Regions from separate parts of the Homo sapiens genome. Here regions 2 and 3 are each linked to region 1. Evidence: promoter capture Hi-C in 16 types of primary human blood cells and fetal thymus (Javierre and others, 2016). All regions are on one chromosome and are shown on one strand. The core of a region is centred on a gene start or on the middle of the fragment in contact, and the rest is flanking DNA. Distances in the headings are between cores, read along the strand shown.

The links. Contacts are between HindIII fragments. The CHiCAGO score rates a contact against its expected background, and 5 or more counts as called.
Region 2: a contact is called between a fragment that was not itself captured here and the fragment with the promoter of ORC4 in region 1, in 1 of 17 cell types (total CD8 T cells). The highest score is 5.8, in total CD8 T cells.
Region 3: a contact is called between a fragment that was not itself captured here and the fragment with the promoter of ORC4 in region 1, in 5 of 17 cell types (total B cells, naive CD8 T cells, total CD8 T cells and 2 more). The highest score is 14.0, in total B cells.

The regions. Positions count from the first base shown.
Region 1 is chr2:148,019,078-148,022,043 of GRCh38, forward strand. ORC4 (origin recognition complex subunit 4) reads right to left here and starts at 1,660. Exons shown (of 14, transcript NM_181741.4): 1 at 1,556-1,660. MBD5 (methyl-CpG binding domain protein 5) reads left to right here and starts at 2,014. Exons shown (of 14, transcript NM_001378120.1): 1 at 2,014-2,607. RefSeq lists enhancers at 1,305-1,902, 2,082-2,181 and a silencer at 1,572-1,731. The HindIII fragment of the contact is 3,631 bases long and covers 718-2,966 here.
Region 2 is chr2:149,560,103-149,563,236 of GRCh38, forward strand. No RefSeq gene overlaps it. Among named protein-coding and RNA genes, the nearest start is that of MMADHC-DT, 26 kb to the right of the region's middle. The HindIII fragment of the contact is 2,763 bases long and covers 100-2,862 here.
Region 3 is chr2:149,580,181-149,583,110 of GRCh38, forward strand. It overlaps MMADHC (metabolism of cobalamin associated D), which reads right to left. Exons shown (of 8, transcript NM_015702.3): 3 at 1,947-2,091. Among named protein-coding and RNA genes, the nearest start is that of MMADHC-DT, 5.7 kb to the right of the region's middle. The HindIII fragment of the contact is 315 bases long and covers 1,428-1,742 here.

The DNA of each region.
Region 1 (2,966 bases), core at 410-2,909:
AGACAATTGGTTACACTATAAAGACAGACAATTGGTTACACTACAAAGAAAATTTTAAAGCACAGGAGTCTAGTTTTGATTCCATCGGACATGATTACCGTACACAATACAGAAGATACTAAGGGCTAAGCAATGATGCATAAACGGGGTCCACTGCCCAAACTTACAGAAAGCAAAACGTGGAAAATTAGTAACTTTAACTGATAGTGTACACCTAAAGAACCTACACCGGCCGGGCGCGGTGGCTCACGCCTGTAATCCCAGCACTTTGGGAGGCCGAGGCGGGAGGATCATTTGAGGTCAAGAGATCGAGACCAGCCTGACCAACATGGTGAAACCCCGTCCCTACTGAAAACACAAAAAAATTAGCCAGGCGTGGTGGCACATGCCTGTAGTTTCAGCTACTCGGGAGGGTGAGGCAGGAGAACTGCTTGAACCCAGGAGACAGAGGTTGCAGTGAGCCGAGATCGCGCCACTGCACTCGTCTGGGAGACAGAGCGAGACTCCGTCTCAAAACAAAAAACAAACAAAAAGAACCCACCCAACAGAATTAAGTACCAACATAATAAATACGAAGAATTTTAGATTCTTGGTTTTTAAAAAACATACAAAGATGATATTCCTTCAAAATATCTTTACAAAACATATTGAGACTGTGATGCTTTATATTGATTGTATGAAAACAATGAAAAAGAACCAGCACTGTTTCACTATAAAAGCTTTACTAATGTAAATTTATAAATCCTTTCTTAAATATTTTGAGTTAATTCTAATTTTATGATAGAAATTCATTATTTTCAGCAAAAACAGCTGGCATTTGGGAAACCAAAGGCTCAAAAACTAAGAATAGTAACCAAAGAAACTTGACAAAACAGTCCTTTTAAAACTCTCATCTACACTATAAGGGGAAACTTTGATCACGTCCCTTCTCCTTCATCAATCGTAGAACTCAACATTAAGGACTACACAATCCCACATCCCTCTCCGAGAAAAAGCAAAGGCTTTGTGTTGTAGCAACAACGCAAGACATGGAGGGAAGCTCCACTCAAGACTTCCCTGCCTGCTCCTTCCCCAAAGCCACTCCAGAATACCAGGGAGGGTTGAGAGGTAAGGCATGAAGGGCGCAATATCCAATATGAGCAACGCGTGTGATGCATCTGGTCAAAATGCATACAGAGGACTTGTCTCTGTCCCTAGATAGAAGTCCTCCGTCCTGCAGTCATGAGGGTCAATTGCTGAGGCTTCACAGTTCCCTTCTCTCTTACACTCGGACCGTCACGCTCCTCACCTACTACCCCGATGCAGAGGTAGACTCAGGATCCCTGCACTTGTCAAGGATTCCTCGGCAAGCTCACGGGGCGGGAGTGGCCACAAGACGGAGCTCGCCTGGTCCTGGCCTTCCCGGCCTATACAAGCCTGCCCCCTTCCCAATTCCCAATCTCCACAGCCTTCCATCCTCCCACTTTCGATTCACCTTGCGCCACCGACGCCCCTGGCCTTCGTTTGCAGCAAGTTTACCCCCACCATTACCTCTCGCATAAAAGCCTGCATTTACCAGGTCAAAGAGGGGAACCAACGCCTGCAGGAATCGCTTCACCGAATCGCCTGGCCGCGTCCTCTGCTAGACTTCACCTGCCGCTGCGGACCGTACACAACCACTCCCGGCATGCCCCGCGCACGCACTACCTCTCCCACCCCGCCCCTCTCCCGCCCAAACACGTGACCTCCTTTCGTCTCCGTCCACGCCCACTTCCGTTCCTCCACTTTCCCTTAGGAAGGAGGAGGGAGCTGGGGGTGTTAAAAGCGTAGCGACTTCCTCCTCCTCCCCGCCCCCGCTCCTGTACCTCCCGCTACAATGTCTTCCGGGTCGCTAGCGCCTCGACGCCTTCTGGGAAAATAGCTCATTTCCTCCCCTCCCCCTCCTCCTGCCTTCAACCAACCAGCCACCCGTCAGAGAGGGACATGCGCAGTGAGTGCCTCCCGTCTCTTCTACCCGAACCCCCCCTCCCCCCCAAGCAGAGAGACCCCAGCAGCAGCAGCAGCTGATGATGAAGAGAGAGGCAGTGGCAGAGGGGGGGCACCTTTTATTTCTATTTTTAAAGGGACAGGACACTAATTCTACCCCACTTCAACCTTGAATTCAGGGGGGTGGGGGGAAGGCGGCTGAGTTCCTTCCCCCACCCTCCAGCCCTGAGCCCTGAGAGGGGGATTGAGCCTGAGAGAGGAGAAGGAGTTTCTTCTTCTTCGAAAACCCCCATCCACGACTCCTACCCCCTCACCCCTCCAACTCGCCTCCCTCCCTCCACCCTCCTCCTCTTTGGCCGTGAGAGGAGGAGAGAAAGAAACCAAAAGCCTCTTAGCAACACAGACCCTTTGCTGCTGCTGTTGCTGCTGCTGCTGCTGTTGCTGCTGCTGCTGCTACTGCTGCTGCTGCTACTGCTGCTGCTTGGCCCTGGCTGGAGACATCTCACTACACCCAGGAGCAGCCACTTCCCCAGCTCTCCTCCTCCTCCTTCGCCTCCTCCTCCTCCACTCCCCCCCTTTATTACCCTTTGTGTCATCCTCCACAGCTCCAGGGAAGGCACTCAAAAGTGGGGGGCAGGAAAGGTAAGTGTGTCTGTGGGGGCTTCATTGCCTTCCTCTGGCTCTGACTTTCACTCCGGGGCAACAGTAGCACCAAACCACATACGCAGTGGAGCTCCGGGGTGAGGAGGGGGTGGTGCTGGGGGGGGTGAAGGAGGGGTTGGAGTAGGGAGGGGTGTGTGAGGTGGGGTGCCCATCCTGTCAGGGGAGGAAGGGCACTTTTATTTTTATTTGCTGTTGTCAAAAGTGGTTTCTCTCCTCCATCTAACATCTGATTGTGTCTTGCTCCAGTGGGGGAGAATACAAAAACAACCCCCTCCTTCCTCCAATGAGGCGCCAGGGAAAGAGACAGAAAGAGGCACACTTTCTAGATGTCACTTAAA
Region 2 (3,134 bases), core at 231-2,730, 1.5 Mb after region 1:
AGCCAGAACTTCTTGCCATTTATATAATCACCGATACAATAAATGGAGCAGAGCTGCTCAAATAAAGAGTACAATGAGTTTCCCTTTTCAGAGTGGAGAAGCTTCCTAATTAAGACTGCATTGCAAATACATTACCATGTAATGCAAATTGATGGAATTATAAAAGTCTATACTGTAATTAAAAATTTTTTTCATAAAAAATAAAATGTTAAAGTCACTTACCTGAATTATCAGAAATTGCCAATTAGACAAGAAGTAGTTCATGGACTAAGACCCAGAAAAGCTGTATTCTAGATTTGCCAATTCTAACCTTGGGCAAATCATTAAACTTTTCAAGGCTTGAGTTTTCTCATCCAAGAAATAAAGGGCAGGACTAGACAATTTTTAAGACCTCCCAAATCAATATTTTTATACTCTTTTATTTTTCTTGTCTACAAGGCTATTATTTGTGTGAAGTTATGTTACTTACTTACTTTGACCTTGAAGTTCAATGTGTCTATTCCCACATAACTTTTCAAATAATTAGAATATAATTTCTTAATATTAAAATAATTATAAATCTTGAGTTTTCTTTTACTATTCACAAGACACTTTGGATTTTGCCATGGTCTGTTCTAAATACTGCATAGTAACATGACAAAATTGAATTGGTTCATTTTTTCATGCAGTTTCTCTGCATTTCACATAGTATGTTTTTAATGACTCTGTAACACCATAATACATTACTACACTTCTAAAGTTCAATAGTTTACCCTTACTAATTTTTTGCTTTCATGTCAGAGCCACACTCCCCCCCCGCTTTTTTTTTTTTTTTGGCAGGAATGGAGGCACTAAATAATTGCTTAACAACTAAAAATTAATTTTAAATCTCAGATCATGTCGGATCTTTTGACTAAACACAGTACTCCCAATTCCAGGATTTCTTGACTGCGTGCTGGTGAGAAAGAATTTGACCATCTCACACCAGGTCTTTTTGCTGCCTCTTGCCTTATTTCCCTAAGTGCCTAGGAGTGCTCCCTTATCTTTCTTCTGATTCAAGACACTAGATTGTATTGTGACACAGATTGATACTTTTCTAGAAACTCACAATTTTAAAAATGATAAAAATTACATGTATAATGATTGAACAACATGACCCTGCATCAGGCATTCATTTTCTATTTCATAGCTCAAGTAATGGCATCTAGGAAATAGCACTAGAAAAAAATGCTAGTTTCTAAAAAGTCAAAACAATGAAGTAATTATCAATGTACAGGAACTTTTCTTTCTAAATGGTTTACATTTCAAACATGCAGAATTGATAAGGTAATTTTTTTTTTCTTGGCCAAACTACAAGCCTCAAATTTGAGGAATTTCAAGGTAATTAAATGGTGCCACCTATTGGCCAAATGTATCACTGCAGCCTATCTTTTTAAATATAGAGGATGTTCAATAAAGTTGGCAAAATCCTAAGTGCAAAATTAGAGGTTCTTATCCATTTGAGACAGTCACATTTGTGAATAAATTTTAATGCAATATTTTAAATTAGATAACATATCTCAAATATATAGCTATTTTGTTGTTAGAAGGTTTGTCCACAAGGGGGGTGTGTGTGTGTATGTATGAATAAGAAATACATATATATGCTCATGAAAAGGACACTCATTGTAGCATTAGGTTATTTTTCACTCTGAAATGGAGGGGCATACTGGAAAAGCTAATAGCTAAAGGCAATCCTGGACTTACAATAGCTCTTTCTGCTGGTTGGGACTAAACAGTACCTACAACACTGGGGATCTAGTATTGGAAATGACTGTAATAGTTTTTTCATACAACTTATGGAATTAGTTAATCTCAGTGATTTTCAGTTATCCTTCATAATACAGTATCAGAAAAGGGGTTCTCATAGTAGGCTTCTACAGAGTCTTTAACTTGCCCATGAAAATAAATGTCACTTTAAAATGAAAGCCAGAATTAATTTAAGAAGCAGGCCACGAGTTCTGGTAGCCCTAAAGAATAAACTGCTTCTTTTTTGCTTTATTGTGACTCTCCTAATTTGTTGAGAGGAATATTAGTTGTATCTCTATTTTAGATTCCATGACCAACTTGCAGGTTTTTTTTTTCAATATGCTAAAATATTTTTTGCTTCTTAGAGACACTGTCTTGAATTAACATGGACTTTTGGCTAATCTACATAAAACTACACTGTAGGTTAACCTACATTTATTCTAAAAAAACTGTAACATAAATAGAGAGCAATCTAGAAGCCAAGTGCTCATTCATTTGAGATTAATTGCCTCTTCAGATCACTAATTCATGCTCCAGTGTCCCAGGAGAGTTATTTCCCATGAGTGACCACTTGACTCAGAAGGTATTTTAACTCATCCAGGCTTCGTACAGGACAAATCTTATTACTGTAACTTAGTTACACGGCCATAAACATAGTTTCCCTTTCTCTTTCTCAGCTTGTTTACTTAGTACCAGAAGAAAGTCTCCTCTGTGACCACTGGTGACTTAACTCAGTTTGAATGGGCACAAATCCAGCAACTGACAACATTGTGTGACACTGAAAATTGAGTTCATATTATTTAAAATAACTTTAAACAAGGGTAAATGAAGTCACATTCACTGTAAGCAAACAAGGAATAGACCTCATGTCCTTCTGCAATCAAAAAGGGATGTGAAAAATAAAATTCTTATAAAATTGTTGTTGATTTCAATGTCGAAGATCTTAGTCACAAATTTAAAACAAACAGGAGAGATAAAATAGCAATTAATGAACAGTAACCATGAACCTTCAAAGGCAACAACCTGAAATTATAAACTGATGAGCCATGGAGGCACTATTTAACCCGGGAAGTGCTGCTTTTCTAGGGTGCTCAAAGCTTGTACTCTTTTTGGCTTTAGTATTTTTTTTAATTTTGAGTCCCTCTACAATTTTACCATTAAAAATAACTGTCATTTGATAGCAATGTTGTCATTCACACAGTCACCAGATTCAGCAAATATAAAAAGGAAGACACTAAGATAAATTTGAATTTCAGATACAAATTTTTTTTTAGTATATGTACTATTCAATATTTGGGAGACAGGCAGTGTATTTCATTAAATATACTATCACAATTGTGCTGATAAAATAGTGCTACAATTGTAAA
Region 3 (2,930 bases), core at 335-2,834, 1.6 Mb after region 1:
ATTTTTGGTAGACACAAGGTCTCCTCCTCCCTCAGCCTCCCAAAGTGCTGGGATTACAGTCATGAGCCACTGTGCCAGGCCCATGTTTTTAAGTAAAGAGAAGATCTAAAATGAAACTTAGTAATGGTCGTCTGGGGAGGGGCATTCTGCTGCTGTTATCTGGTGGCACAAAATACGAACGGGAAAAAAAATCATGCATCACATGACCTAATGCTCTGTTTACCAGCCACATGAGTTAATATGGATTGCAAATATAGAACAGACCACATTACTTTATTCACTTAAAACTTTAAAAAAAATCCTAACTTATAAAAAATTCAGAAAGATTCAGAAAAGAATAAAGTAGAAAATTAAACTAATAATTACTCAGAGTAGAGATCTGGGCTTAGAGAAACAGAGGGACAACTGCTATGCATATTACTTAGCAATAAAAATAGATATTTAAAAATATCCTGTCAGAGAACTAAGTAACTGAGAATGGCCATGTCAGCATGGCTGTCTCATTCCTGGATCATGAGCCACCATATCCCTCTTCCACACTTAGGACATACATCACCCATCAATCATGGAACCATTTCCTGCTGAACCCAGACAACGTCTCAAGATTCTCAACATAAACACTCTAGTCCAGTGCCCCTCAAACTCTAAAGATGTACTTAAGATACATCTGGGATCTAGTTTAAATGCAGATTCTGATTTAATAGGTCTGGAGTGGGGCTCAAGATTTTGTATTTCTAACAAGCTCCTAAATGATACTGATGCAGATCATGTTGAATAACAAGGCTCTATCTAGACAGCCACTAATGACTACTCAAGTCACTTCCCAAGAGAAAACCTGTTAGCTATTTTTGAACAAGATGGTTTTTAAAAGTCTAACAATCCCTAGATTCTCTTTACAGAAAACAAGCATCCCATATTAATAGTAGATTTGGGCAGTGGATTTGACCATATGTTTACTGGTCATTTTAGGTTTTGTTTTCTGTGAAAGGCCTATTCATGTCCTTTTGTTTTCTGATTTTCTGTTGGGTTATCTTTTCCTATTGATCTATTATAAATTCTTTATATATTCCAGATACTAACATCTTATATAATTTGAATGGCAAAATCTTTCATTTATTATAAATATATGGTTAGTCTTTAGGTGATGTAAATTGGGGAGTAGTCAGAGAGTTAGAAAACTTGGGCAGGATGGAAGGCTCTGAATGCTCAAGTGAACTTAAATTACGTTGTAAGTAATGTGTGCCATGAAAAAAGGATTCCATGTCCAATATCTTTAGGACACATTAGGTTAAGTTTCTAAGAGTCTTTAATATTTTAGTGTGCCTTATAAGCCTCCAAGGCAGGAATATGGCATGTAGCATTTCTCAAACTTACCTACCACAGAGACTATCCCCCTACCCCCACTTTTTCTTTTTAACCTTGAACAAAGCTTCATGGCTTGAAGGTAGTCTGGGAACTACTGCTGAAAGCAATGAAAGATAACAGGTTTTTCAAGAAAGGGACATGGTTAAAATAATTTAGAATGATTAGCATGGTAGTGGTGTACCAAACAGGTTAGAAGAAACAGACTTTGTAGAAAGCAGGTAAGTTCAATAAACACTAACACATAAAAAGTACAAGGTACATTTATGAAATCTAGCAAAGAATGGGAAGAAATAATAATATGGTTTAACAGGACCAAAAGGAGATTTGTTTCAGGGAAGACTCTATGTTTGAAGACAGAAAGAAAAGTTTAAGAAGTAAGCTTTAGAAACCAGTACTTACTCTTTTTTCAATACTGTAGCTTTCTGACATAAATATATTTAGGCAGAGCTGTGATTCATTTTCAACTGAACAAACACAACTTTAGAAAAATCCATTAAGCCTTAAGAAGAAATATTAGAGGAAAATACAACTAAAAATGTTTTGAAACAATTATAAGTAAAGCAGTAACAACTTTCACTTACATATATCTGGAGGTGCAGCAGCCACATGAGACTCATCCGAACCTGATGATCCTGCAGTCGAAAAGGCTTTGGGATTGACAACCCTTTTAACTAAAGAGCAAAATCCTGGGAGATAGGAAACCAGTCTGGCTCTGTTACAAAGCACCTAGAAATGACACAAAATTAAAACTATTTGTTCTGAATATAAATGTTATACTTACATAGACAATCTCTGGCAAATCTTCACACTGCAAGGTTCTTTTAAAACCAACATTTATTCTACTTTTACTGAACACCTACTATATGAAAGCATTATATATATTTGTAATTTTAAAAATAAAAATAAAAATTAAAAAAACAAGTAATAAGTTAGTTTGGGTAAAAGCCTATGTACTTTTCAATAAAGGCTAGAATTCAAGAGTGCCACACATGAGAGAATAGACATCTAAAAGTTGTCTTATTTAGACACAACACTAAAAAGGTAGCACAACTAACAAGATTCTTCTATCCTCAATAAAGAACTCTCAAGACATCTCTTTGGACCAAAATCTGTTACTTTCGAACTTTTCTCTCTTCTTTTACTGCTATAAATTGCGCTAATTCTCTCCCATACTGTCCTTTCATTGTGGTTTCATGGCAATGTCTGCTTTTCTCCATTTCAGCACGTATCTTTGTGGTATATTTTTTTCTGCTTATATGTTCACTTACTAGACAGTGAGGTCATGTATTACAATGGATGAATGTGTAAATATCTTTCATTCATAAATTTTTTAACAATCTTTCATTCATAAATTTTTTAACAAAGTACTTGGGTCAGAACAATTTAATGCAGGGATTGGCGAACGATTTCCCAATACAGCCCACTGTTTTGGTAAATAAAGTTTTACTGTAACATAGACATACTAATTTATGTACTGCCTATGGTCACTTTCCCACGACAATGGCAGAGTTAAGTAGTTACAAGAGATATTCTGTGGCCCACAAAGCCTAAAATATGCACTATCC